7 separate regions of the Homo sapiens genome follow, and regions 1, 2, 3, 4, 5 and 6 are each linked to region 7. Evidence: promoter capture Hi-C in 16 types of primary human blood cells and fetal thymus (Javierre and others, 2016). All regions are on one chromosome and are shown on one strand. The core of a region is centred on a gene start or on the middle of the fragment in contact, and the rest is flanking DNA. Distances in the headings are between cores, read along the strand shown.

Region 1 (4,011 bases), core at 1,048-3,547, 1.7 Mb after region 7:
TTCATCTAATTATATTACTTAAAGATAAAATGTAATTGAATTAAACTGGGAATAATTAAATCAAAAATTAAAAAGGGAGAGGAGCAATTAGAAAAATGATATATTTGATAACTGGCATACAGTTCAAAATGACAAGAGTTTCACAGAATACTGGCAGAATTCTGAGTTCTGTAATACACTACAGAAACAGGCCACCTTCAGGGTGATTTTCTAAGTAACAAAAAATGTATCAGGAGGCTGGGCATGGTGGCTCACACCTGTGGTCCTGGCACTTTGGGAGGCCAAGGCGGGCGGACTGCTTGAGGTCAGGAGTTTGAGACCAGCCTGGCCAACATGGCAAAATGCTGTGTCTACTAAAAAATACAAAAATTAGGCGGGCATGGTGGTGCGCACCTCTAAGCGCAACTACTCGTGTGGCTGAGAACAAGAATTGCTTGATCCTGGGAGGCAGAGGTTGCAATGAGCTCGGTCTCCAAAAAAAAAAAAAAAAAAAAAAAAAAAAAAAACAGTATCAGGAGCTTTAACTATAGTCTCACTTAACTCTGGCAACCAATCCTATCTGGAAGACATTATTCTCCCTTTCTTAAAACAAGGAAACTATGGGAGAAGCTAAATAAGGAACTTGTCAAGGTTTCACAACTAGTAAGTGGCAGCCAGGATTGGACTCAGGTCTGCAGAAACCAAATGTCTTTGCTCTCAATCATGAAGGCACTCTAATGCCTTTCCAGCTCAGGAATCAAACCCATTCCTTTTAGAGTTCATTGATTTGTTGTGCGGTTAGTCCATTACTGCAACCAATATGCCAAAACATTACCATCTTTTAAATGTTTAAAATGGCTATTAAGTTGTGTTTTTGTTCAACAACCTTAAAACATCACCAAAGTTGAGAATATAATGAATAATTTCATCAGCCCCACGTGGTCAACTGTATATAAAGGTATGGGCTTCTTCAACATTAGAAAGTACTGTGTGTGTATTATCATACATATGCATTAACAAATATTAGGTCAGGCTGGGTACTGTGGCTCACGCCTGTAATCCTAGTACTTTGGGAGGCCAAGTCAGGATGGCTTGAGCCCAGGAGTTTGAGACCTGCCTGGGCAACACAGTGAAACGCCATCTTTCCAAAAAAGACACAAACACAAAATTAGCCAGGCATGGTGGCACGCGCCTGTAGTCCCAGCTACTAAGGAGGCTGAGGTGGGAGGATCATCTGAGCCCGGAAGTTCGATGCTGCAGTGAGCCTTGAAAGCGCCACTGCACTCCAGCCTGGACGATAGAGCAAGACCCTGACTCTCAAAAGAAAAAAAAAAATCGGCAAACTACTTAAATTCTTCTGTGTAATTTCCCAAAGTAATGAAAAAGCAGAAATTCTAAGCAATCTACCAACAATAATCTTGGTCATGTCGAAAAAATAATTCCAAACAGAACTTAAGATGTGTCAGTAAGGTGACAGATCCAATGTTTACTCTGAAATTTACTACACATCCACAGGGTGCAGTAAAAGCAACCGCATCAGTCTACAGTGTACCTGGGTGTTTTCCCCAATTACCCTACCACATTTAATTAAAAATAAATGCAGCCTCAGTTGAAATCCTAAATGCTAATATGCTCGTCTGGGTTATTTCTTCTGAACTCGATAAAACGTAAGGAAAATTTGACTCAAGTGAACTGAGGATTTCTCCTGAGAGGAGGGACAGGACAGGAAAGGAGGTAAGAAAAGGAGTTGGGGGAAAAATGCTAAAAGAGAAGCGACGACTATTGGATTTTAAGTTTTAAAATCTTATTTCCACGAGCAACTCTCGCTCTCCGGGGGAAAAAGGGAGAGGTGAGTTGACTGGGAGTTCATCCCTCTGAGAAAAAGATCCGAAGCGGAGTCTCGTGTTGTCTAGCCCGGGCTCACACTGCGCCTCCCTCCATGCCCGGGAAAACCATCTTCAGGAGCAGATGCACCTGCCGGGGACACGGGGCGAGGGGTGCGGAGCCTCCTCCACGTACAATTCTGGGGCGAGGGGCAGGTCCAACATCCCAGATGGTGACCACCACTGCGCAAAGCCGGGGCGCAGCGACCTTCCACGCCCTGCACCCTCCCTGGCTGATGCAACCCACACAGGTCATTGGTCTCGGCCCCTTACCTAGCGGAGGGTCTCCTGAATTCACGGTCAGAGAGAGCGTCGCCATCTCCACCAGTCCGCTGGTCCACCTGTCAGTACGCCTGGCTCGTGCCAGAACTACGGAGGACCCCGCGAAAGGAAGAAGATGCAACGTGTGCGCGTACCCGACGCCGCCGCAGCCTTCGCTCCGCCCCTGCGCCGCAGCTACTGCCGACACCGCGCACGCCGCGGTGCGACATCGTCGCGCGCCGTCTTCGTCCCCGCCCGCAGGTTCCAGAGCCTGCTACCCCTCCTCTTGGCCGCCAGGGTTAGAACGGCCTGCGTGGCCTTTCGTGCTGCGGTGGGAAAGACGCTGAAGTGGACGGGACTTTACGACACTTCGTCAAGTCAGCAGGTCGTAAAACAGCAGGTTGTAAAACCATCTTTAAGATGGGATAGGCGTTTATGTGAAGCACGAAACAAAAGCATGCACTGTCTTTATGTAAAAAGAAAAGTCCTGGAAGCATACACACGATAGCCATGATTACGTTGGGAATGGGAGAAGTTTTTCTCGTTGTTTATTTTATACATTCCCCCCCGTTTTTTTTTTTCCAAAACAAGAACGTATTTTCAAGAGTTATTTGCGTGTTGAAAATAATGGTTAAAGGAAATATAAAAGACTCTTTAAAAATCACTGCAGGCCGGGCGTGGTGGCTCACGCCTGTAATCTCAGCACTTTAGAAGGTGTAGGCGGGCGGATCACCTGAGGTCAGGAGTTCGAGACCAGTCTGGCCAGCATGGTGAAACCCCATCTCTACTAAAAATACAAAAATTAGCCTGGCATGGTGGTGGGCCCCTGTAATCCCAGCTACTTGGGAGGCTGAGGCAGGAGAATCGCTTGAACCTGGGAGGTGGAGGTTGCAGTGAGCCGAGATCGTGCTACTGCATCCAGCCTGGGCGACAGAGTGAGACTCCTTCTCGAAAAGAAAAAAAAAAAAAATCACAGCAGAGGCCGGGCGCGGTGGCTCAGGCCTGTAATCCCAGCACTTTGGGAGGCCGGAGGCGAGCGGATCTCGAGGTCAGGAGTTGGAGACCAGCTTCACCAACATGGTGAAACTGTAGAGACGGGGGTCTCTACTAAAAGTACAAAAATTAGCCGGGAATGGTAGCGCGCACCTTTAATCCTAGCTACTTGGGGAGCTGAGGCAGGAGAATCGCTTGAACCCGGGAGGAGGAGGTTGCGGTGAGCCGAGATCGCGGCACTGCACTCCAGCCTGGGCGACAGACTGAGACCCCGTTTCAAAACAAACAAAAAATCACTGCAGATAGGCGCAGTGGCGCGCTCCTGTAGTCTCAGCTATTAAGAAGGCTGAGGCAGGATCGCCTGAGCCCAGGAAGATGAGGCTGTAGTGGCCTCGCCGTGGACTTGCCTGTGAGTAGCCACTACCCTCCAGCCTGGCCGACACAGGGAGAGACCTGATCTAAAAAACAAAACAAAAAAACCCTCCGATGCCGCCCCCAATCATGGAGTCCACAGGTGTTTTTTTCAGCGTCTCATCTGATTCTCCCTTTCAAATCCTTTGTGACGGACGTGCATGCATGAGCTCCAGAGATACTCCAAGGTGTATACACACATTCGTGTGTGTGAGCTGCACCCATATTTCAAGGGCTGGTGTTAAAGTACGGGGACCCGGGATGGATTCCAAGAACCATCTCAACCACATCCTCGCCTACACTTTTTCTTAACCTCCCCAAGACATCCTTGTTTTCATTAGGGAGGGCCCCTTAGATTACATCTCCCATGAGACTTGAGGCCAGGCGCGGTGGCTCATGCCTGTAATCCCAGCACTTTGGGAAGCTGAGGCGGGCGGATCACCTAAGGTCGAGAGTTTGAGACCAGCCAAGCCAACATGGAGAA
Region 2 (3,704 bases), core at 213-2,712, 1.3 Mb after region 7:
TCTACTCAACATGGTTATCAATGACTTGGATGAGGGATTACAGGCAGCTCAGATGCTTATAAAGTATGAGATAAAGTGTGAGATATTAAAATAAAAGGACAGGATAATCTTTTAAATGATAGAGATGGCTGGTTCTAATAACATACTGAGTTTTAATGAAAAATAAAAGTGTTTTTCTTAGGTATAAAATATCTGTATGTAGATATATAAACACACAGGAAAGAGTGCAATTTTTTAGGAGGTCACAGTTTAAGAGGAACTTCAGCAAACTAAAGTGTTTCCAGTGCAGGAAAATCTAGATGGGAATGAATCTAAATGGCTTAATGTTATAGGAATTGGGATGATTAAGCCTGAAAATGAGAAGACTTTAAGGGCATAAGACCACTCTTCAAATAAATTAGAAGGCTAGTGAACAACTGCCAATACATTTTATAGTCAGATTTATATCGACACCACTGAACTAGATGGTTCCCAAAATCTTTTCTAGATATGAGATTCTGTGTTCTTCTCCACCACGGGCTATTCCAACCTTCTCCTTCAGAGCACCTCCACCAGTCTAGAAATGTACAAATACTAACAACTGGTTTGGAATGCCCCAATATAAAATTTTCAATGTCAAAGATGGTTCTGGCTTTCACATCAACTTTTTGATAGTTTTGTTTTGTTTTCTCAGACTCTTCTAAAAGGTCTGCCTGACTACACAGAAGTTATTTTCTATAAGACTAAAACATATAAAGAAATTCATGCCTAAACTTGAAGCATCTCATCAATTTGTAATCAAGTCTCTTTTGCATAGACATGTTGCTCAAGTCTTTTAAAAAACATCCACAAGCAATTTCTTCTCTCCTTTCAGGATTTTTAACCACTGGAATGAGCAGCAAGAAATGGGAAATGAATTCAATGATGGGAGAAAATAACGGTCATGGTTTCTTATGACATTTAAGAAAATGGGAAAGTAGGATAAACTCATCTAAGTAACTATTCTAAAGGTTGAGTATTTGGCCCCTTTCTTGTCCAACATAACCATTAACAGTTGTGACCCAAGGAGTTCCAGGACATAAGGCTGAGCATTTGAATGACAAGCTAGGAGGGTGCCTGGTGGTGAGCACTCACTGTGTGCATGTGTGCCATCCAAAATGTTTCATATGGGAAAACTAAGACAAGAAAGTTAATTAACTTTACAAGATAGAAGGAAAAAAAAAGTCCATTTTCACTTCAGTTTACCACTGTGAGAATTGAAAAGATTCCACTTCCAAGAAAACTATTAATTTCTACAGTGTCAGCATGCTTTTTATAAACTGCATTTTTATGATACCATGCTTGGTGTTGGAAACATTTTATACTCCAGAGGAAAGTCTAAGTTTTTGCAAAGTGGAGGAACAGTATCATATTTAAACCATTTGATCTATTTTTAAAAACACTGTAGTTAAGCCTACAGAATGTCTTTTAAAGTATTTTAAATAGAGCCTTTTACAAGACATCTCAAACGGGTAATATTCTGCTCCGTCTCTCCTTTGTCTTGCTTTCTGCACATTCTGTGTGTTCCAAGAATGTGCGCTGTCCACAGAGTCAGATTGCTGGATGTCCAATCCACAACCCACATATCGATAGAGACTCCTCAAGCTCCAGCATGAATTAATCCGCTGCCTACCACATCCTCTTTTGGAAGAAGAAGAGCAATCAATGTGATTAAATAATGGGAAAGAGTTTTTGCAAGAAAAGTTTAAAGGAACTGGAGGTGTTTCACCTACAGAAGAGAAACAGTGATTTGTACACAGCTCTTCAGTCACTGAAGATTTCTTTTCTAAAGGCAGTAAATAATTATGTTCCACATCCACAGAGAATCAACAACAACAACAACAAAAAAAACTGTGTTTAAGTTATATCCAGAGAGTTTACCATTGAGCAAAAAAAGGTATTTTCAAGGTTTGAGTGATAAAGCAGTAAAATGATCTCTTCTAGGAGGTTATAGAGCCTGTCCTGCTAAAGAGCTTCCATAAGAGAAGAGTTGCCCCCACGTCTTGAATGGTGTAAATAAAGAAGGTCTGTGACTAAAATGCAGAAGTGGGACCTTGTGGCCCAATAACCCAAGACAGAGATGAATATATCCTGTTATAAAGGCCTGTAAGAAAAGTATTCTTGGAATTTGCCTTGGTAGTACATTCTAGTACTTAGCAACCTTCCCTATCAGGGAATTCCTTTTCCGAGGCTCAAAGCTCATGTGTTACATTCAGATCTTTCTCTATGAGAGTGAGGATGTATAACACACCCTTGAGTGGCCCTTGTAGATGCGTTGCCAGCTTCCACCTCAGTATGGTAGTGGTCTATCTAGGCTATTGTCTAATGTGCCCATCACAGGGCCATAAATAGAAGAGCCCTTCATAGAGCACATACCTGATTCTTCTGACCATGAGGAAAAGAGTCACATGTGCTCTTGGCTGACCTCAAAAGAGATGTAGCATCAAATTCAACTGACCTCAAGTACATTTTTAGTAACTCTTATTTCCACAGCTCTAGGCTAAGTGCTGGCCAGAAACATAAAAATTATAAGTCATATTGTCAGCCTCAAGTTGCTAAAACATTTGGGGTAAAAATAAGACATACGCATATTAAAGAGATAAGAGTGAAACAGCTTTTGTTAAACGACACTGTGACAGGATGAAAAAGTACTGAAGAAATCAAAGACGACAGGGACATCTGCAGAGTAGAGTAGCTGGGAAAGGCTTCATGGAGGAGATGGGACCAAGTTTGGAAATTTGAATACCTGTCTTGCTTAATTTTTCATCTAAGTGACTTCCCAGACTTCTCTTTGTCCTCTGTAAAGTATATTGACCGATACCCGCAAGCAGCTGATCACTTTTAGTTTGTAGTGACTTGCTTCTAAAAGTGAACGTTTTTATACCAGCTGAATTTGTTTTTACAGTTTAGTAAAATATTATATAAATGGATGAAACAGTAAAAAAAAATTCCTAGAAAAGCTAACTTATATACCTTGAAAATCGCTGATATATATGAGTTGCTTAAAAATATTCTCCCATGTAGGTATTGGTGAAATAACTGTAAAGAAAGGTAACTGTTAATAAAATTAGAAGATTTCTAGACACAGATTGCTTCATGAGTATTTTTCTGTTCTTAGTCCACTTTAAAGAAATCCAATTGGAAATCATAAGCTATGTAAAGAAGACAACATGAGCTCTAATCCCTGAACTCATACTCAGAAAACATAAATTAGCCTTGATCATACATTTTTAAGTTATTCTGTGCTCAGTTATATGTTTTTACAATAAAATGAAATATTAAAATATATGCTACCATTTTTAATGATCCTCTTCTTTAAGTGACTTAATTAACCTGTCAACTACTTATTCGATAGCATAAGCACGGTTAATAGGGCTTTTGTTGGCAAAACTAACCTAAGAAGCACTGGACCAGAGGGACAAGGACGTGGTTTCTAGTTTTGCCTTCTCATTGGAACTTGGTCAAGACAATTCCTTGCCTGGCTGGCTCCAGTTTTATACTCCATAAAGTAACTGTGGTAAATTAGGTCTCTCTACAGAACACCTCCCCGCCCACCGTCCACACCAAGCCTTGGCATTCTGCAAATCAATGATACCAGCTTTCATAAGCCCTTGGTGCATTGCAAACCTATAACACAGACTTGTTAACTAACAATCATTTGCACTTTTTACTGTCCTGACATAGCA
Region 3 (3,731 bases), core at 27-2,526, 1.4 Mb after region 7:
AGGCCAGAATATAAAGAGGAGCTCCAAGAGCCCAAAGCTGAGGAATTCAATAATTTAACACACCTCTAATCCATGTAGCTTGTCACCGAGATTGGGGAACTTTGGCTTAGGAAATATTAGTTCAACATTTGAGTCTTGCTGGAGAGTGGCTTTCTCTATAAAATTTTTTCTTCACTTTCGTGACCCCAAAACTGCCTGGAAAACTTTTTAGTAATACTCTGAATACTTAATTTGTTTACATTCCTGCCTTTTTCTATGAGACTGAAAATCCCTTTGGAACAGAAAACATAGATTACTCACCTACGAATTCTCAGAATACAGTGATGGTGCCCAGCCGAACTGATAAAGAGCTAAAAAAAAGGAAGAGAAAGATCCAAGAATCTTTATTCCAAGTATCCTGGATGGTTGTTGGGTTAATTTCCCTTGGTCATCATTTTTATATTTGTAGACATTTTTCTAAAACTAAAGCGGTTTCTTTCTGTTCCCCCAAGCCTTTTTTCCTAGAGGTAAGCTTTCAAACTACTACTATGACTAAGCAAAGTGCTGGCATTTCAAGTGATAAACATCCCAAAAAGAAAAAAAAAAATGGCTACTCTGTGAAATCGACTTCTAAGTGCCCAATAGACTATTGAGCTTTTTGCTGCCAGAAAATTTTCTGTCAACTGATGCTTCCAGAATCAGATGGTTCTCATCAGCAAGAAGAGAGAGATTCCAGAAGGTGAAGATTTTATAAATGCATTGAAAAATGTCAACGTTTTTGTTTCAAGTTATGATTGAAATGAGCATAACCTCATATTTTAAAACACTAGGAATGCTCTTGAAGTGGTGAAAAGACAAAAAGGAAAGCTGAGGCTGCCAGAACAATTTTTCGATTTCTCAGATGAACTTGACAACAAAATGAGTATGGCCAGAAGTCCATCCTCACCCGGAAAGCACTCATGTGCTCACTGAGAAGCCAGTGAACATCATAGCTGATAGCCAGTTCCAAGGAAGCTCATTCAAGCACCTCTATCCAAGAAAGGGTGGCTCCAAGCAACACTGCCCAATTGCAGTAATTTCCTTCAGACTTTACACGTGACTATCAACTTATCGCTACTGACCTAAAAGCCAAACTACGCTTTTTTGTGATAGTTATTGATCTTGCTTTTTTCCCAAACTTAGCTTCCCTGGTGAATAAACACTCCAGTACTCTTCACTGTAAAGTGTAGATGATACAATGCTTACCTCTCAGGGTTGTTGGAATAGTGAGAAGAGCCACAAAATATCATTGATCTATACATTCTAGTGCTAAACATCAACTGAAATAGAAGATGATGCTCTTCTTTCTTTCAGTAGGGGCACAGAAGAATTCACTGGGAAACATGGGAGAGTAACCCAGCTCTGGGGCTTCATCTAAAGGACTAGGGGAAAAAGGGCTCCTATGAAGATGTGGTTGGTGGCTTTGTCCTGTGCCCTCTTAGATAAGCTGGACTACATCTCTCAGAATTTCCTTCCCTGCATGGGGCGAGGCTAGGATTGACAACAAGAGAAATGTTCATAAGTTTTGGAAAGCAGAACGAAGTAGCAGCCATTGCACACTGAAGGTATGTCAAGGGCATGAGGCATGGTTGCAGCTCCTGGATGTTGTGACTGATCTGTGGGCTCATTTTGTTGACACGGGACCCTCCAGGCTTGTAGCTACTCTCATTCCCACCAGACAGCTCCCTTCAGCTTCCTCAAGTCCAAGCCAGTTTGTCCTGGAGGGGTTTAATTTAACCTCATGGGTTCCAGGTGGGTTTTGCTCTTTCCCACTTAACATCTGGCTTTCCTTCCTGACAGCCCATCCTATCCATCCACAGCAACTTCAAGCCCACACCAGGTGCAGAGACCACAGCATCCCATAGAATTCTTTATCAGATCCCACAGTTATGGAGGATCCGTATCATACTCCCCTTATTTCAGATCATTCACTGTGGCTCTGCTTCTCTGATCGAGCCAAACTAATAAAGTAGAAATCCTTCCCACCCTACTTTTCCCCCCAACTTTCTTAGGGAAATGAAAGGAAGCTTCCTAAGGAAATGCACTGTGCCATCCTCTGTCACAGATAGAAAAAGTTTCCGTCATAGTCATGTGACTCCGAAATGCACAATCACCAGCACCTCATCCACTTTCATTCCCAATAGCCGGGGATCAGGAGTAACATTTATATCATCATAAAAGAAATACTTGTAAGGCAAATTCTTGATCTTCAGTCTGAGTCATCCAATGTACTCAGATCCAAAGGAGGCAATTCTCAATTCCTTTAACACAGATGGGACCAGTGAGAGGGGATCCTAGTCATCCTACAAACTTCTGGAGTTACCACATGAAAGAACTTCTCTACTTTAAAATACTTACTCTAGCATCCTGATCCACATCCTCAAAGACCTTTTCAGAAGCAGGAAACAAAAGTAAATGGCCACCCACATACTATGGAGTTGGTACATTTGCTAAGTTGCCCAGGCAACAGAACTAATGACTCAAAACACTGCGGTCAAAACTTTCCAGAGATAGTGATCTTTACTGCAGCAGAAAATACTTTTTCACCTGTAAAATACAACTTCTGTGTTTCAAACTTTCTTTCTTTTTTTTTTTTTTTGAGACGGAGTCTCACTTTGTAGCCCAGGCTGGAGTGCTGTGGCGCGATCTCGGCTCACTGCAAGCTCCGCCTCCTGGGTTCACGCCATTCTCCTGCCTCAGCCTTCCGAGTAGCTGGGACTACAGGCGCCCGCCACCAAGCCCGGCTAATTTTTTGTATTTTTAGTAGAGACGGGGTTTCACTGTGTTAGCCAAGATGGTCTCGATCTGCTGACCTCGTGATCTGTCCGCCTCGGCCTCCCAAAGTGCTGGGATTACAGGCGTGAGCCACCGTGCCCAGCCTCAAACTTTCTTTAGAGTAACACAGCTGAACAATAATTGTGCGATCTCAAGAAAGTCTGGGTGTGTTGAGAACACTTTAAACCTAAGCACCTTGCTATGGTTTGAATCATGGTGTCCCCACCAAAATTCATGTGGAAACTGAATCCCCAGTACAATCTGATTAAGAAGTGTGGCCTTTAGGAGTGGATGTAAATAAACAAAAAGAGGTCCAGAAAGGAGGCAGGAAGTTTAATTGTGGTATCTTGGAGGAAGGCAGGAGAAATGGCCCCTGGAGAGGACAGCTTAGTGTGTTTGTTTATCCCAGCCCAGGCCTGGAGGACAGGTCAGCCCTATCCTCAAGGAGGCTGCAGACAGAAGCCAAAAACACTGTTTCCAGTGGAATTTATCTCTCAGGATCAATCAGGATTACTCCAGGACCCAAGGGACCAAATCCATCCAGCTGGGGAGTGAGGATATATTTACAGGAAAACACAGTGTTGCTTTGGGCACTGGAGATGACCCAGGAGGAACAACAGTGGGTACTTATGGGCTCCACCAGGGCAGTTTCCAGGCCTGGAAGCAGCTCTCTCCCTAGAGCCCCTGTAACAGTGGCCACCACATATTTCCCACTAGTAGCCAATGGGCAGGGGATATCGGCAGGAAGTAAAATAAAGAAAACTGCACGTGAGCCCATAGACAACACGTAGGGACTCCTAAAGTCTCCATAGTTGCTGGAGATATAATTTTAATATAATTCCACAAGTGCCCACAGGCTAGAGGGGTGGAGGATACCCAGGTTCTATTCCATTAGATTAGAGTGAAATGAATGAGGAAAATACTTATCCCAAAAGCAA
Region 4 (4,036 bases), core at 1,131-3,630, 1.3 Mb after region 7:
ATACCAAAGGGGGAAAAAAACAGTAAAGGCATGCTCAAATTTATACCACCTTGTTGAAGAAAGCTTGTAACCAGTAGGTGTTACCTGTGGGAAGTTTTGGGACTAAATACAGCACAACAGCTAACTAGAAAAAAAAAAAAATCTCTTTGCAAGATTTTAGAAAAAATTCTTTTTTCCTTAAATATTTTTTTTCAATGACATCTGAAACCTGATATCAAGAGCATTTACAATTGGTTTCAATCAAAATTAACCAAAACTGAAAAGTCAGGAGAAGACAATAGGGATTACAATGAATAAGTATATGGGAAATAGAAGGAAGGGGTCAGGTCCAACTTTTGATGAACCTATATAATTTGTTGCCTCCGATACTAGGATGATCTCCTAAATCAGCAGTTCCTAACATTTTTGGCACCAGGGACCAGTTTTGTGGAAGACAATTTTTACACAGACCAGGGCAGTGGGGTGGGGGATGGTTGCAAGATGATTCAAGTGCATTATGTTTATTGTGCATTTTATTTCTATTATTATTACCTTGTAATATACAATGAAATAATTATACAACTCATTATAATGTAGAAACAGTGGGAACCCGGAGCTTATTTTCCTGCAACTAGACAGTCCAAGGGGGTTAAGAGAGAGGGAGGGATGCATAGGCAGAACCAAGAGGATTGTTGGGGTAGCAAACCTCCTCTGTGTGATGCTATAATGGTGGGTAAATGTCCTTATACATTTGTCCAAACCCAAGGAATTTTCACAACATCAAGAGTGACCCCTAATGTAAACTATGGACTTTAGGTGATAATGGTATATCACCATATGTTTAGCAACTGTAACAAATGTACCACTCTGGTAGGGGGTGCTGATAATGGAGGAAGCTGTACATGTGTTGAGGTAGTGGGTATTTGGAACTCTCTGAATCTTCCTCTCAATTTTGCTGTGAACTTAAAACTGCTCTTTAAAATGGTTTTCAACAATATGTACAAAAAAGGGGTAAAAAATCATGTCCACCTAGAACCTGTGAATGTGACCTTATTTGAAAATAGTGTCTCTTTGGATACAATCAAGTTTTAGATGAGATAATATTGAATTAGGGTGGGCCCTAAATCCAATGACTGTTGTCCTTATAAGAGAGAAATCTGGACACACAGACAGACACAAAGAGGGAAGAAGGCCGTTTGAAGACAGGGGCAGCCACTGGAGTGATGCAGCTACAAGCCCAGGAACACCATGAGTTGCCAGCAACCACCAGAAGGTGGGAAGAGATTAGGAAGAATTCTTCCCTAGAGCCTTTGGAAGGAGCATAGCCCTACCAACACCTTGATTTTTGATTTCTGGCCTTCATAATTGTGAGATAATAAATTTCTATTGTTTAAAGCTGTTCAGATATTGGTAACTTGCTATGGGAACCCTAGGAAACTAATACCCTTGGTGAACCAGGCCCTTCACAATCCATACCACTTTATCTCCTTAAATAGTTCCTTATACCCCATGCTCCAGAACCACCGAACTACTTGTCATTACCCAAACATGACATACAAATTCCATTCCTCTTTGCCTTTTTACCAGCAGTTTCTTCTACCCTAAAAGCTTTTCTGCCCCTCACTTACCTAAAATAATCATACTCATCCTTCTAAATTGAGATTAAGCAAATTAACATTATCTCCATGAAGCCTTCCAGAATACTCAGCCACCAAAGCTGGTCATGTTCTCCTCTCTGGACCACACAGATCTTTGCATTAGGAACTTAATTCTATTTATTTCTACATTCTGTGTACCTAACACAGTGCTTGATATATAATAGCACTCCAAGGAGTTTTTTTAGGTGAAATAATTATCAATTAATGACTTGATAAAAAATAATTAAGCCTCCCAAAAGAAGCCAAAGAAATGTCAATAGAAAGAAAATGAAGCAATCTTTGTCTTAGTAAGTCTCATTTGTATAATTCACCAAAATTTTTCATCTACCTAAAATTGTTTTAAAAACAACACCTTATCTATTCTCAAGAAAACAAACTAACATGATGACATAAACTAATGTGCCTATTTTTTGAAAGTATAGATTTCAATGAGTACATGCCACTACGTGTTCAAATCTACACTGTCCATTCTGAGGGAAATAGAACAACAGATTGGAGATAAGAACACCTCTGTTTGTGTGCTGGCTCTTTGGATTAGTTGATCCTTTCAAATTTGGTTTCCTCATCTGTAAAATAAGGTGCCTACAATTTGACCTCTGCTTTTTATATAATTTTTGCATATCACAATATTCACCTTCTAATAAAAAATTACTCTTAAGAAATAAAATAATATAAGAACAGACAGATTCAAATAAAACCAGCAAATAATACAAAAATAATTTCTATTTGATTTTGGAAGTCAGGGACAGAAAATGCATCCAAACTCAATCATTCCATTCAAACTCAATCATTTGAATTCATTCAATCCCTTCCCCTTCGCATCTGCATCAGAGCCCTTAGTTCAGTTGGTCCCAATAGCCCTAACTTAGAGAATTAATATGGTGCTGAAAGGTTCATGACTATTTTGGATAGACCAGATGTTGATGACTTAAATTTATGTTAGTAAGTTTTGATTGTATCTGTTCTTGCAGGAAGGTTTAGTGGGGAATGGTGTCTTAGTCAGTTCACGCTGTATGACAAAGCACCATAGAATGGGTGGCTTCCTAAGCAACAGACATTTATTTCTCACAGTTCCAGAGACTGGAGGTGTGAGATCTGTGTTCCAGCATGTTCAGTACTGGCAAGGCCCTCTTCCAGGTTGCAGACAGTCAACTTCTTGTATCTTCACATGGTGGAAAGACAGCAACAGACCTCTTTGGGGTATTTTTTTATACAAGCACTACTCCCATTCATGTGGGCTATACCCCCATCACCTCACTTACTCCCAAAGATCTCACCTCTCAATACCATTACTTTGGGCATTAGGATTTCAACATCTGAATGCTGGGAAGACAGAAATATTCAGTCCCTAACAAGTGTGTATGAGAAGGAGCTTTTATCTCTCGCATATTCTTCTTTAGTCTAAGACCTTCCAACAGCAAGGTCTTTTCTTTTTCTTCCTTATATGCCCTTATCAGAGCTTACGAGCATGTTCCACACATGATTGGTAAGGGATAAATCCATGCCTCAAATTATTGAAAAACTACCCAAAAACTGGGAAGCTTAGAGAAGAATATTTTATGACATCTATCATCTTGAAATTTGTAATAGATCAAGTTCCATATTGCTCCATGTAGAAGACACAAAAGGAGATTGACTAGCATCAAGAGAATCACTGCCATTGAAAAGAAACAAAAAGAGTAATTTTATATGAGGCTATATTGATCTAAATGATAAAATGTTTTCTTTGAAACAAAGAAAAAAATTGTATGTGCTCCTTATTGTAAGGTTAAATAAACACTAGTTAGAAAGAAGTGTGGGCTCTTATTTCTAATTATGGGCCTTGCAGAGTTTGTAGAGAAAATATTTAGCCAACATATCCTATCTCAGGGACTCCTACTTGATAACATCCTAGATAGGGTATACAATGACACCATTTCTCTCTGGACACACTGAAGTTGAGAACAAAGAGGCAATTATGGTTACCAAGGGCAGCTCTCTAACTTGGGTTGTCCAACGGTTATTAAAATAACTTAACAAGAGATTAATTCCAGTACTTCAGAACAACAGAAAACAGCCAACACTGGAAGTAAACATCTAGTAAAACAAGATCAATAAATGGGAAATCACAAAAATTGGATTCCCCGGAACCAAGAACGTCCTCTCTGCAAATCCTTAAACTATGGGAAAATTTGGCTTAAAAATATATGAACATGTTTCTGAATACAAACCTATACATGTGTGTATGTATACAGTATATATATTATGTATGTATATATTATATAATAAACCTTGTATAAATTCATACAGAGGTATGACACTTGATTAATCTACACTTGGCCTATAATTGAAATTGAATTTAGAAATATAAACCAACTCCCTTCCATTACAAGTCCTCGCCAAGACTCAACTCACTAGAA
Region 5 (4,268 bases), core at 617-3,116, 1.3 Mb after region 7:
ACAGCCTTCAGGTCTCCATAGTCACCACTTTACTTCTTACTTTTTCTCCTTTCACACAGTCTGTCCTCTGTCTGAGATGTCCTCCGCATTTGTCCCTTCATCCCAAACTTGACGGAACTCCTGGAAGTTTTCCCTGATTGCCTTCTGCATACACACACACACACACACACACACACACACACACACACACACACAGGTGCCCCCAAAGCATCCTGAGCTTACCTTTGTCATTGCATTCATCATATTGCTTTATGTGGTAATCACATTTGATGGTACTTTGAAATATGCAACTTTGAAATGTAATCCAACATAATAAAATTTTACTTATTCATCCAATTTGAAATAATGTACATTATCAATTTTTTAATTCATCAAGAGTTATTTAATTTCAAAATCATCATCCTTCATATTTCTAACATTAACAAGTGACAGTGCCACTTAGACTGGTAAATAGAAAGAACTGCCATCTTTGGCCAATTTTATGGGGAAAATTGTCTTGAATTTTGTTTTTTATTTCATGTCCCTGTCAGGTATTTATAGTGTATTTTTAATTCCGCCAAGTCCAAATACAGTTTTCTAATTAGGGATCATTTTTGCCGTAACCAGTGTTGCCTGGCAACATAGGTATCATTCTACCCTATGCAACTGCTAGAGGAACACAGCTAGAAAGTTAACTGAAGGTCAAATATGCATGCATAATAGGAAAGGATTTTGTTACACTTTTTAAAAAAATAAACTTTTGAGATATAATTGAAATATAACTAGCAACAGGTTTTTATAGTACACATTTGTTAGTTCTTGACAAATACATATATTCATGAAACCATCACCACAATCAAGATAATAAATACATGCATCACTCCCAAATGTTTGCATAGATCCCTTTGTAATTCTCCCTCTACACTTTCTGAACTGCCCCACTCATCTCCCAGCAACCACTCACCTGCTTTCTATTAATATAGATCAGTTTGCATTTCCTAAAATTTTACATAAATAAAATAATACAATATATACTTTTTTGGAGGAGGAGAAGGGACTGGCTTTTTTCATACAGCATAATTATTTTGAGATTCCTTCATTCCATATGTGAATCAATAGTTCATTCCTTCTTATTGATGAATATCATTTCCATTATAAGGATATACCACAATTTGTTGAACTGCTCACCCATTGGGTGGCCATTTGAGTTGTTTTTAGTTGCAAGCTATTGTTTTGTTTTTGCTTATTTGCTTTTATAGTATATTCATTTGAAGCAAAATCCAAGTAAGATCAATGCATAATTCTATAATTCATGCTGCATTTCTTAGCTGGAATATATCTATCAAGAGAAATTTCTCCTCATCAACATTTTGATTACACTAAAGTATGGATTGTACTGGAAGGATAGCATTTATGTTTGACTGAACTTTAGTTTCAGAATATCTTCTCATCCACAGGAACAACTTGGTAACGTGGATCATGACTCTTTCTTGACCTATAGGACTCCATAGATGTGCTTCCATTTGACTGGATACCAAAGGCAAGAGGAGAAGGTGCCAGTAATATATTTCACTGGCTATATACGGTAGTTTCTTGAATTCTGGTGTTTTGAATTATGAGAGCTTCTCAAGAATGCATCCTTCACAATTTAAGTTTATATATCTATGTCCCCCTGTAGACTGTGAGCTCCTTGAAGACAGAGAATGTGTCTTGCAAAGCTGTGTGTCTACAGTGCCTAGCACAGTGCCAGAATATAGTAAGCTCCCAATAATTGTTTCTCAAGGGAACATAAGTATTGAATTAAATCCTATTGCAAGACTGTAGGATCTGGTGTTGAAAGAGCTGAAGCCCTGATTCTCAGTAGCACATTAACAACTGGGAGGGAGAGGATTGAAGTCACCTGGAAAAGAAGAACAGTTTTGTGTCTGTTCTGCCTCTGGCTTTGTCCTTCATTTTACCCCTGAATCCATCTCTTGGTAGGTTGCTGTTTTGTTTTTGAGCTTATTAAGACTTTTTAAAAGTTACCTATACCTTCAACTTAGGGACAGAATTGCTATATTGCTACTTCATGGCAAAATAGGTACACGGTAGATAAATAGACGGATAGATGGATGATGATAGATTAGATAGATAGATAGATAGATAGACAGATCATATTAATAGATAGATAATAGGTAGACTAGATGGAGAGAGAGATAGGTAGATAGATGATAGATAGATAGATAGATGATAGATAGATAGATAGATAGATAGATAGATGATAGATAGATAGATAGACTGAAATACAGTCTGTTTTCTTGCTGTCTTCTTGACAAACATATAAACAGCCCACCCTAACATGGTGACTCATGATTGGTAGGGTGTCCCAAAGTACTACGGTAAGAAGTCACTTAACATAACAAATTCATTGGATCTGGAATAATTTTTTCACTTCATTGTATTCAGGATAATTATTTTAAAAACAGAAACCAACGTGGACTTTGGAGAGAGATAAACCAGGGTGCGATTCTTGGTTCCACCCACTGTACGCCTTTCAGTACAACTTAATCTACCCACCCCTCAGCTTATCTGTAAAATAAGAATAATAAAACTTATGTTTAGGGTTTTTGTGAGCATATATATATAAAATGTACAATACAGTGTTCAGTAAATGATAGCAGAGATCATGACAAGCCAGGAGGAGCATGATCCTACGGAGGACAGACTTTGCAAGGCCAAATGCTGTAGGAGAGAAAAATCTAGACTTCAGAGTCAGACAGACTGGGATTCAAATTTTGGTTTTTCTACTTTTTTATTCTGCCACCTTTAGTAACATAAGCTCCCATAATCTCAGTTCCTTCCTATGTAAGATGGCAATAGTTAGAGATCTCATATGTTAGTTGAAAGGAGTAAATGAAAAAACATTTGCATAGCATTGGGCATATAGCAGGCATAAAAAATTTTTATCACCTCTTCTTCCCTTTTCTGACACTAATGTTTATTTGAATATTTTCATCTACATTCTTTCTATATGGACAGCCTCCTAATTTTCTGAAGGTCTGTAATTAGTATTTGCTGGAAGCAACACTTGAACAGTGACTCCAGTCTAGACTATCCTCTGGGAAGTGAACCACAGCTACCCACATATTCGATTCTTGCATCCATCTAGGGAGCACAGCTCCTATTCCTCCAGCCAAACCATACTTTAAGTAATAATCTCATCCAGAGCTTCCCTTTCACTTCTTTCCTACTTCCCTCCTACAGAGACCATCTATTTCCATTATCCTCAATGCCTTGGCTAGTACTCCATGGAGCCAGCCCAACCTAGGTCATCTTCAGACCTGGAACTTGCTCTTCCCTGAAATATTTATTTTGTTAAGGCAAACCAAAGGATTCTCAAGTTCACCCAAACAGCAGGTGTCTGTTTTTGCCAAGAATGCTCCTTTCATTTTAAGGACATTGTTTCAGGCACCAGAAATATAAACGATGGAAAAGCTGAGTGCAGGTCTGTGTGGTTCCATTGGGTTTAGGTTACCACCGGAAACTGAGCAAAGAGCAGAGAACTGACTAATTCATTAACCCTTTCTACTCTCACGGTGGCTGAGAAGAAAGCATCTTCAGCTCCAGTAGACTAGAGGTTTAGAAGTGTTCTTACTCTTTATCTGTGGTGCGATTTTGCAAGCAAAATTTGCAAGTCAAGTTGCAATCTCAAAATTAAAACATAAAGAGGTAAAATTGAGGAGGGGTTTTAAAAATGAAATTTAAGTAATGAATACAGAAAATTGCTGCTTGTACACATTATAAATCTTTAAGGTGGGACACAAACAGAGACTAAAGAGACATATAATAAATTGTGAGTGGCGCCTGATAGTTGCATCGATTTCTGAATTGAGATAAAAAAATTAGGTGACATTTTTAAAAGGCACAGAGAGTTTGGTAAAAAGGTGGCCTCCAAAATTCTCCATATATAGCTATTTTAATCAAGTAATCTTTGAGTAACTCTCTTGCTTCTAATTGTTTCATGTGTTCTGGCCTCCCTGTTAGAAAGCAGTAAGATCAGAAGAATACCTCCCCATTTCTTCTTGTATCCTTTGCAGTGTCCACTGTGATTCCAGTAGTTTGTTGGTGGAATAGGTAAATAAATGAGTTATAGATAATGTCATGTTATATTAATGTCCTAAAACACAATCTGTATTTGGGTTATTATAATGAAGAATGATAACTTTTACTGTTCAAACTGACATTTTGAAAGGTTGACAAAAATTCCCAATAAAAAGAATTACCATTCAAAAACATATGAAAGTTACAAG
Region 6 (3,965 bases), core at 1,322-3,821, 1.2 Mb after region 7:
CATCTGTTGATAGGCATTCAGCCGATTTCACAACTAGGTTATTGTGAATAGTGCTGCAGTAAACAGAAAGGTGCAGCTATCTCTTCAATATATAATTTTTTTCTTTTTGATAAATATCCAGTAGTGAGATTTCTGGATAAGATAGCTCTATTTTTAGTTTTTTGAGGAAACGCCACACTGTTTTTCATAATGGCTGTACTAATTTATATTCCCAAAAAAAGGCATAAAAGTTCCCTTTTCTCCACATCCTTGCCAGCATTTGTTATTTTTTGTCTTTTTGTTTTGTTTTTGGTTTTGTTTTTTGAGACGGAGTCTCTCTCTGTCGCCCAGGCTGGAGTGCAGTGGCGCAATCTCAGCTCACTGCAAGCTCCGCCTCCCAGGTTCATGCCATTCTCCTGCCTCAGCCTCCGGAGTAGCTGGGACTACAGGCACCCGCCACCACGCCCGGCTAATTTTTTCTTTGTATTTTTAGTAAAGACGGGGTTTCACTGTGTTAGCCAGGATGGTCTCTATCTCCTGACCTCATGATCCGCCCGCCTTGGCCTCCCAAAGTGCTGGGATTACAGGCGTGAGTCACCACGCCTGGCCTATTTTTTATCTTTTTAATTATAGCCATTCTAACTGGGGCGAGATAACACTTCATTGTGTTTTTGATTTGCGTTTCCCTGATGATCAGAGATATTCTAATCATCTCTGTCATAAAAATGGACAAGATCTGAATAGCCATTTGTGTGTCTTCTTTTGTGAAATATCTATTCAGATCCTTTGCCCATTTTTTAATCAGATTATTTATTTATTTATTTATTTATTTTGCTGTTGAGTTCCTTGTGCATTCTGGATACTGATTCCATGTTGGATTAATAGTTTGCAATATTAATAGTTTGCAAATATTTCCTCCCATTCTACAGGTTGTCTCTTTACTCTGTTGATTGTTTACTGTGCAGAAGCTTTTTAGTCTGATATAATCCCACTTGTTATCTATGCTTTTGAAGTCTTACCCATAAAATCTTTGCCTATACCAATGGCCTAGAGCATTTCCCCTGTTTTCTTCTAGTAGTTTTATAGCTTCAGATCTTATGTTTAAATATTTAATCCATTTTGAGTTGATTTTTATATATGGTGGGAGATAGGCATCTAGTTTTATTTTTCTGCATATGGATATCCAATTTTCTCAGCACCATTTACTGCAGAGGTTGTCCTTTCCCCCAGTATGTGTTTGTGGCACCTTTGTCAAAACTTGGTTGGCTATAAATACATGGATTTATTTCTGATGTCTCTATTCTGTTCCGTTGGTCTATGTGTCTGTTTTTATACCAATATCTTGCGGTCTTGATTACTATAGCTTTATAGTATATTCTGAAGTTAGTAGTGTAATGCCTTCGGTTTTGTTCTTTTTGCTCAGGATTGCTTTGGCTACTCAGGGTGTTTTGTAGCTCCATACAAATTTTACAATTGCTTTTTCTATTTCTGTGAAGAACGTAATTGGTATTTTGATAGGGATTGCATTGAATATATACATCTCTTTGAGTCGTATGGTCATTTTAACAATTCATGAACATGGGATGTCTTTTCATTTGTTTGTATCCTCTTCAATTTTTTTCATCAATGTTTTCTAGTTTTCATAGTAGATATCGTTCACCTTTTTGGTTAAATTTATTTCTAGGTATTTTTGTAGCTATTGTAATTGGAGTTGCTTTCCTTATTTTTCAACTAGTTTGTATTGGTGTATAGAAATACTACTGATTTTTTGTACTGATTTTGCATCCTGCGATTTTGCTAAATTTATCAGTTTCAAATATGTTTCCTGTGCCTTTTCTTATCTCTTCTCCTTCTGAAATTCCCATAACGTGAATATTCATTTGCTTAGTGTTGTTAACAGTGTTCTATATGTACCATAGGCTTTCTTCATTCTTTTTCTTTCCCCTCTCCCCCTACTTCTTTTTTTTTTTCCATCTGACTGGGCTATCTTAAAAGACATGTCTTCAGGTTCAGACACTGTTTCTTCTGCTTGATCTAGTCTGTTGTTGAAGCTCTTAATTGTATTTTTATTTTACTCATTGAATTATTTAGTTACAAGAGTTCTGTTTGGTTGTTTTTTAATGATATTTACCTCTTTGTGGAATTTCTCATTCAAATCATGAATTGTTTTTCTGATTTCATTAAATTGACTATCTCTGTTCTCTTGTATCTTATTCAGTTTCCTTAAGAACATTATTTTAAATTCCTTTTCTGGCATTTCATAGATTTCCTTTGCTTTGGGATCTGTCACTGGAGAATTCATATGTTCCTTTGAAGGTGTTGTGTTTCCTTGTTTTTTCATATTTCTTGTGTCTATATGTCAATATCTGTATATCTGGTGGATCAGTAGCTTCTTCCAATTTTATGGAGAAGCTTTCATAGCAAAAGATATGAAAGCTATTTCTGTTGGCATGTCCTATAGTGTTGGTTGGGTGGGATGCTTTGGCTTTGGTTCTTGATTGATTCAGTAGTATGGCCTCCTTATGGTTTCTTCAGCTATAATCAATGTCAGTGGTGTCTGTGACTGCCTCAACGGCCTAGGGTGTGGTTGATTGTGGAGGTTGGGGGTGAGACTTTGCTGGGAATCAGAGCACTGGGTGGGCCAGTCCTTGGGCCCCTCAGAGCATGCCCATGCATGGCTGCTTCACCACTGGAGGGGAGGGGTCACCAGCAACAGCAGCAGATCCTGGGCAAGGCTGTCTTCAGGCCACTTAGGGGCATGTGCAGACATGCAGAAGCTTTGTTCTGGATGAAAAAACGTCACTGACAGCAGCGTCAGTGGGCCTGGGAAGGCCAATTCTTTGGCTCCTAGGAGGGTGCTAGCTCTGCTGCTAGAGCAAATGAGGTCACTAGTGGTGGCAGCTGTAGTCCACAGGCCCTGGGGAGCATGCCTGTTGGCTCCCTCTGTCCTGGGGCAGCATTCTTGCTAAGCTGAACTGCCTGTGCTTCAGGAAATAATGTGTTGTGTGCACTCAAGTAAACAAGGTCATGGCTGCACAGCTGGGTTCAGCCTATGTTGTGACATCACAGCCCTCTAGATGGATGTGACAGCACGTCAGTGGCGCACAAGAGATATGGAGATGCAGGAGCTATTGGGCCTTAGGGCAGGATGCACTCTGGTGGTTACTCCATTCTCAAAATGGTGACAGAATGGTGCTGCCCAGGGGGCAGGGAGGAGAACCCAGAATGAATTCCCTCTCTGGAACACTGCAATCATGTGAACTCCAAGCAGCTCCCTATACTGAGCTCAGGTCCCGCAAGGGCTGTGGGGCTCTCCTGTGGCTAGGATTGCAGGAGTCCATGGTGGGAATGTGAACTGCTGGAGATATCCTGCTTATATTTTCCTTGCAATGGGGAGCCCCTCCTGACTCCTAGCCAATTCTAGCTGGGTGCTTTTCTTCCCTCTCTGTGCTATCATCCTGAGTCTTTGTGCATCAGAGGGTCTTTATCACTTCTTTGCTGAAATCCAGTGTTCTCCCCAAGCACTCTTTTGACATATGGTTATCTATGTGTTGTTTTGGCCTTTCTTTATAGTCTATCATATTTTAGAGTGGCGTGTACCTGTTTCTCTTGAGTCCACCCACCCTCTACTTAATGTTTTGCAAAGCACAGGATTTGTGCCATTACTGGAAATAAGAGAATATTAGAGACATAGTATTTAAAAATATGAGCTCAGGATAAGCCCTGGAAAGGAGTTAAAGGCCCTTCCCAGGGTTCTAACAGAGGCCCCCAGCCCACCTTCTTTTCCTGCCCTGAATTCTGTCCTGTATCACAAAGGGTCTCCCATGCATGTCTATGGACTCAACAACCCACATATCTAAGCACCAAATATATCTTGCCTACCTAACTGTCTCCTCTTGCCCACTCATCACACTTAGGGGTACGTATACACCAGCAGCACAGTCCATCTTCAGCAAGACAAACATGGGGAGAATCTGAAAGATAAG
Region 7 (4,228 bases), core at 1,666-4,165:
AACTTTGATAGTCATTTAGCATTTTATTCACCAAAAGTGTATTTTCTTGTCCTTCCCTCCTATAATTACTGGGGGCAAAATACCATAATATTTAAAATGTGCCTACAGAAACTACTAGGAGGCAGAACTAGAAGCAAATTCTTCTTGGGTTCTTTCCTGGCTTTTCAGAGAGAGCGAGAGAGAGAGAGAGAGAAGGCCAGATATTTTTATTATAAATTCCTTGACAGAAATAAAGACATGATAGGATAAGAAACTCACAGAGTCAGTGAGTAACTTGTTCAGGATCACAAAGCCAGAAAGTGACAGAAATCTGAACCCAAAAAACCATGACTGGAGCCTGCCCTTTAAACCACTGTGCTCTCCTGCCTCCTTGAAGTAATCAAGATGGGTGTATATCATTTAAATACCCTTTTACCATGAAGACTGTAGAGACCCCGGCACATAAGACCTCCATTAAATATAGAGATGAAAAGGCATTATAAGAGCCATTTAATAGAAGAAATGATTCATTTACGGTTACCAGGGAGACAGCTCTAGCAATCTTGCCGGTTAGGTCTTCAAAGAACTGATCATTTGAGAGGTGGAAAGGGGCTCCTCCTCTCCTGCTATACTCACTTACTGCACTTACCCATTCCAGAAGCTTTTACCAATACCTCCCGTCTTACCCTCCTGGGCTTTGGGGAAATTAAAGTAGCCTCTTATGAGTAAGTCAGGGGTCTCAGGTCTAAGGAGTTGTTAAGTGAGCAATAGGTACTCAGTAAACTAAGTATTATGAACAAAAGTGTGTATGTCTATGTCAGGAAGAGGGGTGGCCATCAGAATTTATGGCTTGCGCTGTTTTCCTAGAAGTGATGTAAATGAACTTTTGCTACTCTATCCACACTCTAATCTGAATCTACTTAAGGTGCATCAGTGTCTGTACCAAGAAGGTTGTCTATAAACATGAAAGATGCTCACTGGCTTGTGGAAGCTGAACCTGTATCCTCAGCAAAATACAGTGATAGCTAATTCAGGTAACCAGCCATATTCCACAGCAGCATCTTCTCTCAGTAGCTCTGGTTTGGAGCTCCTGCTCTGTGTCTATAATGGCCACAGGTGTAAGAATATTCACTTTTTGTCCAATCTGTAGAGCTAGCCTACTGCAGTTCTCAAACTGAACTCAGAGGGAGGACCTAACTGGATGAAACTACTAGTCTGACAGTAGCGCCTCTTGATTATCTTTTTCTTGGGCTACTGGGATGGTAGCTTTGCTTCAACTCAAAACTGGTATCAAGGAAAGGAACCTGCTGGTGCTGATTTATACATAATTTTTAGAATTATTCAGAAGTGGGTTGGAACAATTATTTTATTCCAGAGTTTTTCAATGTGTGATAATGGAAAAAATTCTGTATTCAAGGGAGTTTGGAAAATGCTGGGTTAAAAGAGTGAAAAGGTTTTCTCTTCTACAGGAGTTTCAGAGCCTTTAACATGATAATGTTCCAGAATGAGGAATCTAAGAGGACAGGAGAGTACCCAGTATCTCCCAAACTTGTTTGACTCCAGAATTCCTGTTTGTCAGAACATATTCTGGGACCATTGTTTCTCAGAAGTACATAGTAGGTAAGAACATAGTGGATCCTGACTGCAAAAATCCAGCTCTACCACTTACTGTGGTCTCGAACAAAGTACTTAACTTCTTTGTACCTCAGTCTCCTCATCTGCCAGATATGGATAATAAGACCCACTTTATAGGTTCATAGTGAAGATTAAATGACCATACACAACACACATCAAATTACTAAGTGTAGTATATGTTAGCTATTATTATTTTATTTATTCAGTGCTCTACTAATAACCTAGGCCCCATACACAACTGAAGTATAAATTCCAAAAGTGATAGAAAGTTCTTTGTGACTTTTCTGAACTCAGGAACATCTGAAGTAGAGAACAGTATAGAGATCTTGGGTTTGGGAGTACATTCAACAGAGTTTCCAGTTTAAATCATCTGTCTGGTCAGTATGGCTGCAGAGTCATGCCGAAATGAAAATGTTGACTTTGAGTAACTAAAGGTAAAATAAAAGAAAAAGGGAAGGTGGAACAGTGGTAAGAGTTATTCTTGTATTCATCTAATTTAGACTTAGTTGAAATTGAAAATGTCAAGTTATGAGTAGTGTAGAACAGTAGACATCAAACACTTAAAATTCCAGCTTCCTGGATTAATGCTATGGAAAGAATGAAGTTGGTTGATAATGTTTAGCCTAGCAAGAAGGTGAAGAAGAAAGCCATACAAGAAGTGGCTTAGGCAGCAAATTATAAAGGTGACCATTCATTCAAATCAGTAAAACAAACAAGTATACCTTATTCTTTAGGTAAAATTGATGGATCTCTGTTTTCCAGCAGTTCACAAACAGAGGGGTACATTGTAAACAACAAACTAACAAAATAAATTCTGGGATGGCAACCTGCTAAGGTATCCCAGAAAATAAGAGGTAGGACATGAATTTAAAAGATTGGAAGGTATGTCTTCAGTACTGGCCTGGCCCTGAGTAGACTAGTGCTCCCTCCCATAGGGGTGCGTGTGCACACATAATACAGGAGGGAAGCCTTCCCTTCTAGAGCAAGTGATTCAGCTTGGGAGGCTGTGACTGAGCTACACTAAGTAAAAACGGGAGACTTGATTGTCCTTCCTTCAACAGACCTGTCCAAAATGACTGGAAAGTAAATACCGTAAATCACTGTTGTCAGGGCGCACATTCCACCTCCTTCCTCCCTTACCCACAGCGGTCCTCATTTCCACACTCCCTCAACGGTTCGGGGAGAGCTCGTGGTCTAAGTAACGAGAGGACTTCTGACTGTAATCCTAGCACGTCACTTTGTTGAAGGCAGACACGTGGTTCAGAGAGAACTTATAAATCTCCCCTCCCCGGCAAGATCGTGATGTTATCTGCTGGCAGCAGAAGGTTCGCTCCGAGCGGAGCTCCAGAAGCTCCTGACAAGAGAAAGACAGATTGAGATAGAGATAGAAAGAGAAAGAGAGAAAGAGACAGCAGAGCGAGAGCGCAAGTGAAAGAGGCAGGGGAGGGGGATGGAGAATATTAGCCTGACGGTCTAGGGAGTCATCCAGGAACAAACTGAGGGGCTGCCCGGCTGCAGACAGGAGGAGACAGAGAGGATCTATTTTAGGGTGGCAAGTGCCTACCTACCCTAAGCGAGCAATTCCACGTTGGGGAGAAGCCAGCAGAGGTTGGGAAAGGGTGGGAGTCCAAGGGAGCCCCTGCGCAACCCCCTCAGGAATAAAACTCCCCAGCCAGGGTGTCGCAAGGGCTGCCGTTGTGATCCGCAGGGGGTGAACGCAACCGCGACGGCTGATCGTCTGTGGCTGGGTTGGCGTTTGGAGCAAGAGAAGGAGGAGCAGGAGAAGGAGGGAGCTGGAGGCTGGAAGCGTTTGCAAGCGGCGGCGGCAGCAACGTGGAGTAACCAAGCGGGTCAGCGCGCGCCCGCCAGGGTGTAGGCCACGGAGCGCAGCTCCCAGAGCAGGATCCGCGCCGCCTCAGCAGCCTCTGCGGCCCCTGCGGCACCCGACCGAGTACCGAGCGCCCTGCGAAGCGCACCCTCCTCCCCGCGGTGCGCTGGGCTCGCCCCCAGCGCGCGCACACGCACACACACACACACACACACACACGCACGCACACACGTGTGCGCTTCTCTGCTCCGGAGCTGCTGCTGCTCCTGCTCTCAGCGCCGCAGTGGAAGGCAGGACCGAACCGCTCCTTCTTTAAATATATAAATTTCAGCCCAGGTCAGCCTCGGCGGCCCCCCTCACCGCGCTCCCGGCGCCCCTCCCGTCAGTTCGCCAGCTGCCAGCCCCGGGACCTTTTCATCTCTTCCCTTTTGGCCGGAGGAGCCGAGTTCAGATCCGCCACTCCGCACCCGAGACTGACACACTGAACTCCACTTCCTCCTCTTAAATTTATTTCTACTTAATAGCCACTCGTCTCTTTTTTTCCCCATCTCATTGCTCCAAGAATTTTTTTCTTCTTACTCGCCAAAGTCAGGGTTCCCTCTGCCCGTCCCGTATTAATATTTCCACTTTTGGAACTACTGGCCTTTTCTTTTTAAAGGAATTCAAGCAGGATACGTTTTTCTGTTGGGCATTGACTAGATTGTTTGCAAAAGTTTCGCATCAAAAACAACAACAACAAAAAACCAAACAACTCTCCTTGATCTATACTTTGAGAATTGTTGATTT

The links. Contacts are between HindIII fragments. The CHiCAGO score rates a contact against its expected background, and 5 or more counts as called.
Region 1: the fragment with the promoter of EPRS1 here is called in contact with the fragment with the promoter of TGFB2 in region 7 in 6 of 17 cell types (naive CD8 T cells, total CD4 T cells, monocytes and 3 more); the score reaches 9.8 in naive CD8 T cells.
Region 2: a contact is called between a fragment that was not itself captured here and the fragment with the promoter of TGFB2 in region 7, in 1 of 17 cell types (monocytes). The highest score is 6.9, in monocytes.
Region 3: a fragment that was not itself captured here is called in contact with the fragment with the promoter of TGFB2 in region 7 in 1 of 17 cell types (neutrophils); the score reaches 5.2 in neutrophils.
Region 4: a contact is called between a fragment that was not itself captured here and the fragment with the promoter of TGFB2 in region 7, in 2 of 17 cell types (M2 macrophages and monocytes). The highest score is 5.9, in M2 macrophages.
Region 5: a contact is called between a fragment that was not itself captured here and the fragment with the promoter of TGFB2 in region 7, in 2 of 17 cell types (monocytes and M0 macrophages). The highest score is 10.1, in monocytes.
Region 6: a contact is called between a fragment that was not itself captured here and the fragment with the promoter of TGFB2 in region 7, in 3 of 17 cell types (monocytes, M0 macrophages and M1 macrophages). The highest score is 14.4, in monocytes.

Annotation. Positions count from the first base shown.
Region 1 is chr1:220,044,208-220,048,218 of GRCh38, forward strand. EPRS1 (glutamyl-prolyl-tRNA synthetase 1) reads right to left here and starts at 2,298. Exons shown (of 32, transcript NM_004446.3): 1 at 2,136-2,298. The coding sequence starts at 2,181. RefSeq lists enhancers at 1,451-2,008, 2,050-2,379, 2,440-2,509. The HindIII fragment of the contact is 10,455 bases long and covers 1-4,011 here.
Region 2 is chr1:219,624,737-219,628,440 of GRCh38, forward strand. No RefSeq gene overlaps it. Among named protein-coding and RNA genes, the nearest start is that of ZC3H11B, 13 kb to the left of the region's middle. The HindIII fragment of the contact is 7,610 bases long and covers 1-3,704 here.
Region 3 is chr1:219,708,617-219,712,347 of GRCh38, forward strand. The region is part of intron 5 of LOC105372926 (a long non-coding RNA gene); the gene reads right to left. Among named protein-coding and RNA genes, the nearest start is that of ZC3H11B, 97 kb to the left of the region's middle. RefSeq lists an enhancer at 1,547-2,746. The HindIII fragment of the contact is 1,534 bases long and covers 510-2,043 here.
Region 4 is chr1:219,678,516-219,682,551 of GRCh38, forward strand. No RefSeq gene overlaps it. Among named protein-coding and RNA genes, the nearest start is that of ZC3H11B, 67 kb to the left of the region's middle. The HindIII fragment of the contact is 1,591 bases long and covers 1,586-3,176 here.
Region 5 is chr1:219,647,613-219,651,880 of GRCh38, forward strand. No RefSeq gene overlaps it. Among named protein-coding and RNA genes, the nearest start is that of ZC3H11B, 37 kb to the left of the region's middle. The HindIII fragment of the contact is 6,356 bases long and covers 1-4,268 here.
Region 6 is chr1:219,583,260-219,587,224 of GRCh38, forward strand. No RefSeq gene overlaps it. Among named protein-coding and RNA genes, the nearest start is that of ZC3H11B, 28 kb to the right of the region's middle. The HindIII fragment of the contact is 365 bases long and covers 2,390-2,754 here.
Region 7 is chr1:218,342,421-218,346,648 of GRCh38, forward strand. TGFB2 (transforming growth factor beta 2) reads left to right here and starts at 2,916. Exons shown (of 7, transcript NM_003238.6): 1 at 2,916-4,228. TGFB2-AS1 (TGFB2 antisense RNA 1) reads right to left here and starts at 3,258. Exons shown (of 3, transcript NR_046268.1): 1 at 3,183-3,258; 2 at 2,755-2,968; 3 at 1,776-2,042. RefSeq lists a silencer at 2,844-2,903 and an enhancer at 3,284-3,333. The HindIII fragment of the contact is 5,586 bases long and covers 639-4,228 here.